2 separate regions of the Homo sapiens genome follow, and region 2 is linked to region 1. Evidence: promoter capture Hi-C in 16 types of primary human blood cells and fetal thymus (Javierre and others, 2016). All regions are on one chromosome and are shown on one strand. The core of a region is centred on a gene start or on the middle of the fragment in contact, and the rest is flanking DNA. Distances in the headings are between cores, read along the strand shown. Region 1 holds the start of TTC39B (tetratricopeptide repeat domain 39B). Region 2 overlaps ZDHHC21 (zDHHC palmitoyltransferase 21).

Evidence for each region. Contacts are between HindIII fragments. The CHiCAGO score rates a contact against its expected background, and 5 or more counts as called.
Region 2: a contact is called between a fragment that was not itself captured here and the fragment with the promoter of TTC39B in region 1, in 1 of 17 cell types (total B cells). The highest score is 8.4, in total B cells.

What each region holds. Positions count from the first base shown.
Region 1 is chr9:15,305,966-15,310,245 of GRCh38, reverse strand. It overlaps TTC39B (tetratricopeptide repeat domain 39B), which reads left to right and starts at 3,030. Exons shown (of 20, transcript NM_152574.3): 1 at 3,030-3,162. The coding sequence starts at 3,121. RefSeq lists silencers at 2,776-3,115, 3,146-3,465 and enhancers at 2,703-3,265, 3,829-4,280. The HindIII fragment of the contact is 2,405 bases long and covers 2,789-4,280 here.
Region 2 is chr9:14,686,364-14,690,705 of GRCh38, reverse strand. It overlaps ZDHHC21 (zDHHC palmitoyltransferase 21), which reads left to right. Exons shown (of 10, transcript NM_178566.6): 2 at 321-369. Among named protein-coding and RNA genes, the nearest start is that of ZDHHC21, 4.9 kb to the left of the region's middle. The HindIII fragment of the contact is 2,205 bases long and covers 303-2,507 here.

The sequences.
Region 1 (4,280 bases), core at 1,781-4,280:
AAGGGGAATTCTGTGTAAAAACAAATCCATTCTAATTGTTCTTTGAAGAAAAACTTTTATATTTGTGATTCACGATAAAATCACTCTTGTATAGGCAAAGCTGACAGCTGCCCTGAGCAAAGCAAATTTGATTAGACGTTCCAGTGGCTAGAATACATTTATTCATTCAGTGTTTATAATTGAAACATGAATGTTGCTTATCTCCTGCCGTGAATTTAAAACATACGAGACTTCAGGTTTGATCCCTGATATGTAAAAAATTCAACAACAAAAACACCAATCAAGCTTCAATTATAAGTATAGATTTTTGAAAAATTGTACTCGATTTTCATTATAACATAATTCTGTCACTAATTAGAGCGAAGTTTGTTTGGATCTCTTCAAAATTTGAAGAGTTGAAATTCCAAAGGCAGAATAACAGCATATGGGAGAAGAAGCTACCAGTGAGATGGCTTCATGTCAAAAGGATGTGCTATCAATTCAGGAACCAATGAACTTTGAAAAACAGAACCATGCATGAGTAATACAGAGTAGAATCTGGACCTGGATAGGAATTCTAGCCTCAGAAAGTGAAACATAGGAGGAGGTAGGAGTGGGTTGGGGGTCTGGGAAGGAATGGAAACTTTCAAGGGTATTGGAATTAAACAAACTCTATGTCTCTTCTGGTCCATCTGATTCTAAGTGTTCAGAGCATGTGTTCTAAATAATAAAAGTATTATTATTATTATTATTTTTGAGACGGAGTTTCACTCTTTTCACCAGGCTGGAGTGCAATGGCACGATCTCGGCTCACGGCAACCTCCGCCTTCAGGGTTCAAGCAATTCTCCTGCTTCAGTCTCCTCAGTAGCTGGGATTACAGGCGCATACCACCATGCCCAGCTGCTTTTTGTATTTTTAGTAGAGACTGGGTTTCACCATGTTGGTAAGGCTGGTCTCGAACTTCTGACCTCGTGATCCGCTCGCCTCGGTCTCCCAAAGTGTTGGGATTACAGGCATGAGCCACTGCACCTGGAGCTTTTTTATTGAGTACCTGCACTGATGAATAAGATAGTGCCTCCTTCTAAGCAATTTACAGATTAGTGGGAACCCAGGAGGCGGAGGTTGCAGTGAGCCAAGATCGAGCCATTGCACTCCAGCCTGGGAGATGAGAGTGAAACTGTCTCTCAAAAAAAAAAAGTATTATTATTTAGAAATTGGGTCTTGCTATGTTGCTCAGGCTAGTCTCGAACTCCTAAACTCAAGTTAGCCTCCTTCCTCAGTCTCCCAGTGCTGTAATCCCATACAGGCGTGAGCCACCACACCTAGCCTGTGTCAGCTAGTTTTTTTAAAACAGCTTTACTAAGATATAATTTACATAATCATAAGTTCCACCTATTGTAAGTACACAATTCAAGGATTTTTAGACAATTCAGAGAGTTGAGCAACCATCACACGATCTAACCCATTTTTTCAATGTTTCTGCTGTAGAAACCATTTTATTATTCTAGTACAAAAGTACATGCCAAGCCATTAAAATTGTACAGCAAGTATTAAGGATGCAAAGTGACTCACTGAAAATGTATGTAATGGACTTGCACAGACAACTGCTCTACTGACACAGAAAGAAAGAGAGGGAGGGTGGCTAGAGCCAGTACAGTACAAAGCAATGGTTATCAGCTAGGCCCTAGAGTTAGACTGCTGGGGTTCAGATGCTGGCATCCCTACTTACTTAACTGCTGTCTGGCCTCAGGCATATTACTTGAACTCTCTGAGCCTCAGTTTACTCATCTGAAAGAGAACAGCACCCTACTTTATGGGGTTATGAAGAATAAATGAAATACTATATGCAAGAGGTTCAGTAGAGTCCTGGCACATAGTAAGGACTCAAGAACTATTAGCTGTTTTTACAGTTATCACTGGATGACTATTAAATAGCCTTTCATGAGCCAGACATGGAAGACCACATGCTCTAATTAAATTTATATGAAATTCTAGAGAAGGCAAATCGATGTTGATAGCAGATCAGTGATTGACAGAGGCTAGGGAGCGGAGGTAGGAAATTGACAGCAAAGGGTCACAGAAAACTTTTCAGGATGTTCTATATTATGACTGGGATGCTTTGTAAACACTTGTCACTGAATCACACATTTAACTTGGTGCATTTTTCTGTATGTAAAGTAAATCTGACCTCTCTCCCCCAAACTCTTAAAGATCTAGCTTTTAATTTTCCAGTTATTTTACATGTCAGAAGCAAGGTTCAGTTTCTAAACTCAGCCAACAAATATCTGTTGAGCACCTACGATGTGCAAGACACTGTTCTGGGTGTTGGGGATACAGTCTTGAAGAGGACAGATAGCATCCTACCCCCATGGAGTTTATAGTTCAAGCACGAATTATACACCTATGTTTGGAGTTACAAAATACAGGATGCTATGGGGAGAATACACTGTCCGGGTAGGGGGAAGTAGAGGAGTTCCAATATGTATAAATCTCTGTCCCGCGTTTTTTTCTATTTTTTGAACACAGAAGCAAGCAGAGTCCTTCCACCTACAGTCCAGGTGGGTGGTGTGTCAGAGGCCTCTCGGGGACCAGTGACCGTGACCCAAGGCTGCCCTCAGGCCACACCATCTGCGAGATGCGGTGGCCACCTGGCGAGGGAAAAGGACTGGCACCGGACCAAAGACCAGGTGGATGCTTCCACGGACCCCAGGTGGGGCGCTGCTTTGACCTTGGCTTCGTCATGCCCGCGCTCTCTAGCTTCTTTCCAGGTGTGCCCAGCCACCGCAGAGAACAGGCGGCAGGAAAGCTTAGGAAACCCTCCCAGAGGGCGTGCCAGACCGGGAAACTTTATCTGGGAGGTGACTCCACCCACTTGGGCGGGGCTGCCGCCCGCTGGGGGCCGGGCAAGTGGCCCGGCCAGCGGCGCGGCGTCCGGGGAGGAAATGGATGCTGTGCTGGCCTGCCGGCTCCGGGGGCGGGGAAATCGAGTAGCTGCACTCAGGCCCCGCCCGAGACCCGGAGGGAGCGCCGGGCCGTCCCCTTTTGCCCTCCTTTGCGCTGGGCTGAGCCCAGAGCCGAGAGCAGGAGTCGGCTCTGAGTTCCCTGCTTGGTTTTTGGGTGGCAGCAGCCAGAGGAGGAATATGGCGCTCTTAGGCAGCCGAGCGGAGCTGGAAGCGGACGAGGTACGATCCGATGGGGATTGCGGGCCCGGCCCCTGAAGCCCTGGACAGGAGTCCGGGAGAGAAGAGTGAGCCCGGCTAGGACGGCCGAGGCCCCGCCCCCTTGGTCCCCTCTCTGGGGTGGGCTGGCGGGCGCCGGGTGGGGGCGCCCGGCCTTGGTAGGTCTGTCCCCGCTGGAGCTAGGAGGGTCCCTGCGGCGCGCGGAGCGGACGCAGTGCCGAGGTTCGGAGCGCCGGCCCCGCGAGTCGTGGGGATGGAGGACCCACGTCCTGCCAGCACTTGGATGGGCGTGAGGGCGCGGGACCATAGGACCCGCAGCTCTGAGCTGTTCCGGGCCGGCCCAGCGACGCCTGGGCTTTACGAAGTCTGACCCTGAAGTCCTGGCACTGGCTCTCTGGGTGTTCGTGGAATCATCCCTCGACCTGGGAATCTCACCTTCTATGGAAGTTTCCTGGTGGCAGAACCGAAAGGCTTACGATTGATGAAAAGAGGGGGCAGCCTGAGGAACAATGAGTAGAGGGGTACCTGCCGCGACAGCAGGGCAGGGCTGCCAGGGGCTGGGGCTGGAGGGCTAGAGCCGCAGCCCAGGCTGTGGTGCTTCCCTCTCCCTCCACGGGGCCGGGACACTTCCCCTAGCAGGTCCTCAGAGTCGGTGGTGGCCGGAGGGAAACCACTTTGAGAACCGACTCCGGCCTCCTTTGGTTTCAACTGTGTTTGAGTAATTAGCCACTCCTTCAGTCGTGGCGCGCCCGGGCCTGAGCACCCAGGGGCTAGCGCGCCGGACCTGTTGATTTATTGACTATTCATTTCAGCACCTGGCAACTCCAGAGACAGCGCTCTCCCTGCTCTTGAAGTTGAGACCGAGGCTCCAGCAGCAGCCAGCACCCACAGCTGCTGTTCCTGCCATCTTACCTGACTTGAATTGTGCGAGTCGCTGCCTTTAGAAGGCTTTGGTTTCAAATGATGCAATAGTGGACGATCTGGAGGAGGCGGTTAAGTTTCCCGTCCATCTCTTTAGTGCCAGGAATCTCCTGACAAGGAAGACTATACTTTAAATGTGCTCCGTAAAATAAACAAAAAACAAAAACTGAACTACAGCTCCTCTGCATGACAGAGAGACA
Region 2 (4,342 bases), core at 156-2,655, 620 kb after region 1:
AATACCTTAGTATGATGGTACTTTATGTGTTTGTTTTGCTCTTTAGACCTAACCTAGGCAAAATTGTGACATTTTTGAAGTTTGCCTTCTGCCTTTCAAGCTGCTTTTTCCTCTGTGCTATTTCTCTCAGGGTAGATTAACCTTCTTCCCCATTTCAGAGACTCTCTTAACCGATGTGTTGCCCCTTCTACAAAAGGGCAGGTTGGGTAAAATTGATATTTTACCATTCACTGGTGAATTTTATTTTAAATCTAACCTAAAATGCTCAAGTGTGATGTCAACCAAGCTTCTGATTTTAAGCTTTTTATCTGTAATTACAGAATGAAGAACTTTTTCACTTACTGCAGGATTTTCAGCTTCAGCAAGCAGGTGAGGAGAGATTTTTCTTATGGTGTTAGTGTTCTTAAATCATGGCTGCTTTGGTAAAGCCTGGTGTGAAGGAAATCTAATTTAGTCTTCTACCCCCAACCCCCCACCAATCTCTCTTGGTGTGGTGGGTACTAGAAGGTAAGTAGCAGGCTTCCCTTCCTTCTTGGAAGAACATACTTGATTCATACCCAGGAAAAGCCTGGGCCTCTTCATTTCTGGCTTTTACTGTATCTGAAGGTTTTTTCCTTGTGCTGATTTTGGAACAAAAGTTACCTTTTTAAATCCCTGTCCCTATCCTACATTTAATCTTGCCTTTTCAGTCCCTTTTCCCACTCCTATCTCCCTAATGAAAATTCCCACAGAGACCTTTTGTACTGACTGAAACAATATTTGGTGGTCTTTAATTCGTATCACCCCACACCTCCCAAGCTATTTTTACTTTTTGTTAGAAGATTCTAATGAAGTGAGCTTGAGCCAGGGAGAATGGAGACTGAGGCTGCAGTGGGCTGTGATTGCAGCACTCCAGCCTGGACAACATAGTGAGACCCTGTCTCAGACAAACATACCCAAAAAACAGTGGCCCAGTTATCTACTTTCTCTAAAGTTAAAGCAAGTTAATGCAAGCAGGGAAAAATAAAGGTAAATGCCTGTATTAGCAGTACTAATACTACTAGTAGTAATACTACTAGGATAGTGTTAGCAGTATTAATACTGCAGTGTAGTACTACTAATACAGTCATGTACATTTATTTTTCACTCATGAGACTGGTGCACACAAAAACAAATTTATGAGAAGAGCAACAGCTTATGCTCAATTTTGCCCAGAATGTAATTTAAAGACTTAGTCTACAGAGTGGATTCTTGAAACCATTGATAGTGCAAGTATTTTATGCTTTGACACTTTGTCCACCCACGTTTTTACAAAGTCTTCCTGGAAAACTCAGCAATTGATTCAGAATCCCTGCTTGCATTATACATTCTTTATTAGCTTCTGAGATCAAGTACTGATTTTCTTTCACACTTTATTCCTTTGCTCACCAGTCCTGCTTTTACTTGAATGTGATTTAGTTTAGGGGCTTCAGTTCATTCATTCTATTTTAGATCAAATCTCTATTTTCGGTTTTCTTCTTAAAGATCCCCCTAACCAACGTGTAGAAATACAACTTCAGCTAGTATGATACTAGCCGAAGGGCTGTAATATTTGAAGTTTTTTTGACTAGTTCACAGACTTTAAAAAAGTAGATAACGGGGCATTTTTTGTTGTTCTTGTGTTTGTTTTGTTTTTTGTTTGAGACAGGATCTCACTCTGTTGACCAGGCTGGAGTGCAGTGCAGTCACAGCTCACTGCAGCCTTGGTCTCCATCTCCCTGGCTTAAGCGATCCTCCCACTTCAGCCTCCCAATAAGCTGGGACTACAGGCATGTGCCACCACACCCGGCTGGTTTTCTGTTTGTTCGTTTTTTGTTGTTGTTTTTGAGACAGAGTCTCGCTCTGTCACCCAGGCTGGAGTGCAGTGGGGTGATCTCGGCTCACTGCAACCTCCGCCTCCCGGGTTCAAGCAATTCTCCTGTCTCAGCCTCCCGAGTAGCTTGGATTACAGGTGCCCACCATCATGCCTGGCTAATTTTTGTATTTTTAGTAGAGATGGGGTTTCACGACGTTGGCCAGTTTGGTCTTGAACTCCTGACCTCAGGTGATCCACCCGCCTTTGCCTCCCAAAGTGCTGGGATTACAGGCATGAGCCACTGTGCCTGGCCCCCATTTGTTTGTTTTTTAACTAGTGGCTAGGTCTGGCTGTGTTGCCCAGGCTGCTGTGGATCTCCTTAGCTCAAGCAATCCTACCCCTACTCACCTCCCAACATGGTATGATCACAGGCAAGAGCAGGCCCTGGGGTATTGTTAAACTGTTTCATTACTTTTAATGATGGGGACCTAGAAACGTTGTTTCATTCTGGAGTTTGTAAAACTAGAAGTAAAACTTATCTTTCACTTTCCCTTCCTCTGCTCTCTCCTTCGCTCCCCTGTAAAGTTAGCATTTTGGAGGCGCTGCTTTGCCAGTCAATTTCTCATTTAAGCGTGACAGCAACTGTGTAAGTTGACATTTTTATCTCCATTTTACAGATGGTCAAACTGAAGCTTGAAAAGAAACTAAAGCTTGGAAAGTGAATAAGAGACTATGTCATAATTTCTCTTTTAACATCTGTAGAAGATTAATTTTTTAATCTGTTGATAATCAACTGAATATCTATGTGATATTTAAAAAATTGAATTCCTAATTGGCAATGAGAGCTTGATTTTTATGGAGAATTATTTAACTGCCACACTTGACTAATTTTCAGAGTAGAATGATATCAGAAGTCAAAAAGTTTTATAAATACGTTTACAGCTGTAACTCTGCTTTCTAAATTCATTTGGCTGTAATTAATAAGTTTAAAATTTCATATATTCATCTAATAAGCATTTTCTCTTGGCACTGTGGAAAAAAAATTGGTATGTTTGAAAACTTAGCTTGTAAATTGTTAGATTGTATTCTTTCAGGCGTAGCAATATTAAAAATATTTAATGACATTTTATAGTTTTGAAACTTTGAAATTGTTTTGTTGTTCCAATTTTTTGAATGTTTAGGCCCAACGTTACTTTTGTTTTGTTTTGTTTTGAGACAGGGCCTTACTCTGGCACCCAGACTGGAATGCAGTGGCACGATGATTTCTGCTCACTGCGGCTTCTGCCTCCTGGGTTCAAGCTTCAAGCGATTCTCGTGCCTCAGCCTCCCGAGTAGCTGGGATTACAGGCGGGCGCCACTATGCCTGGCTAATTGTTGTATTTTTGGTAGAGACGGGGTTTTAACATGTTGGCCAGGCCAGCCTCAAACTCCTGACCTCAGATGATCTGCCCACCTTGGCCTCCTAAAGTGCTGGGATTACAGGCATGAGCCACCATGCCCGGCCCAGCATTACTTTTATTACCACATAGATGAGATTTCATTTCTCAGAGGTAGTGGTGTTTATCTAGTACTGAAATACGAATCTCATTTCAGAGGCTGTGTCTGCAGTGTAGCTCTGATAACTATAAATGTAAAGTAGGATTTTTCTTGATTTTAAGCCAGCAAGTGACTGGGATTTGACTCATGGGTGATTGGCCTGTGCTATAACCTACTAACGTTACTGACAGAAACTACTATTTTGCTGAAACATTAGGAAGCCACTCTCAAGTCATAGACTTAGTAGCATTATTGTTTTTGGCCATCTTTCAAAAATGTTTGGTTGTACCACATTTAATTCTGTTTGAATTTTTTTCTGAAATAATTCATTTATTTGCCATTGGGGTAGCAGCTCTTTAACATTGTTTTTTTTTTTGTTTTTTTGAGATGAAGTCTCGCCCTGTCGCCCAGGCTGGAGTGCTGTAGTACAGTCTCTGCTCACTGCAACCTCTGCCTCTTGGGTTGAAACGATTCTCGTGCCTTAACCTCCTAAGTAGTTGTGATTACAGGCACACACCACCACGCCCAGCTTATTTTTGTATTTTTAGTGGAGACAGGGTTTTCCCATGTTTGCCAGGCTCGTCTTGAACTCCTGACCTCAAGTGATCCTCCCACCTCGGCCTCCCAAAGTGCTGGGATTACAGGCATGAGCCACTATACCCAGACTTTAACTTTGTAATTCTGTGTTTAGTCTCTAAAAAGCAAAGGTGCAACCAAGGAGCCCACTTTAAATTAGCTTAAAAAGTTAAGAGTAGAAACAAAGTTCATTTGACGATCTAATAACTATGGACCATAGAAAAGTTGACCCTGGGAGGATATACAGGTTCTGTGCCCCCCACAAATGTATAAAGGGAAAAGAAATGTAATAATTTTGATGTATTTTTTACATTCTCAGTATTTAATAGTCTGCTGTTGCTGTGGTAACCAGCACACTTAACACACTTGTAACTTGGCCTTTGTTCCCTGTCTTGGAGAATGGTTCCACCCTTCACC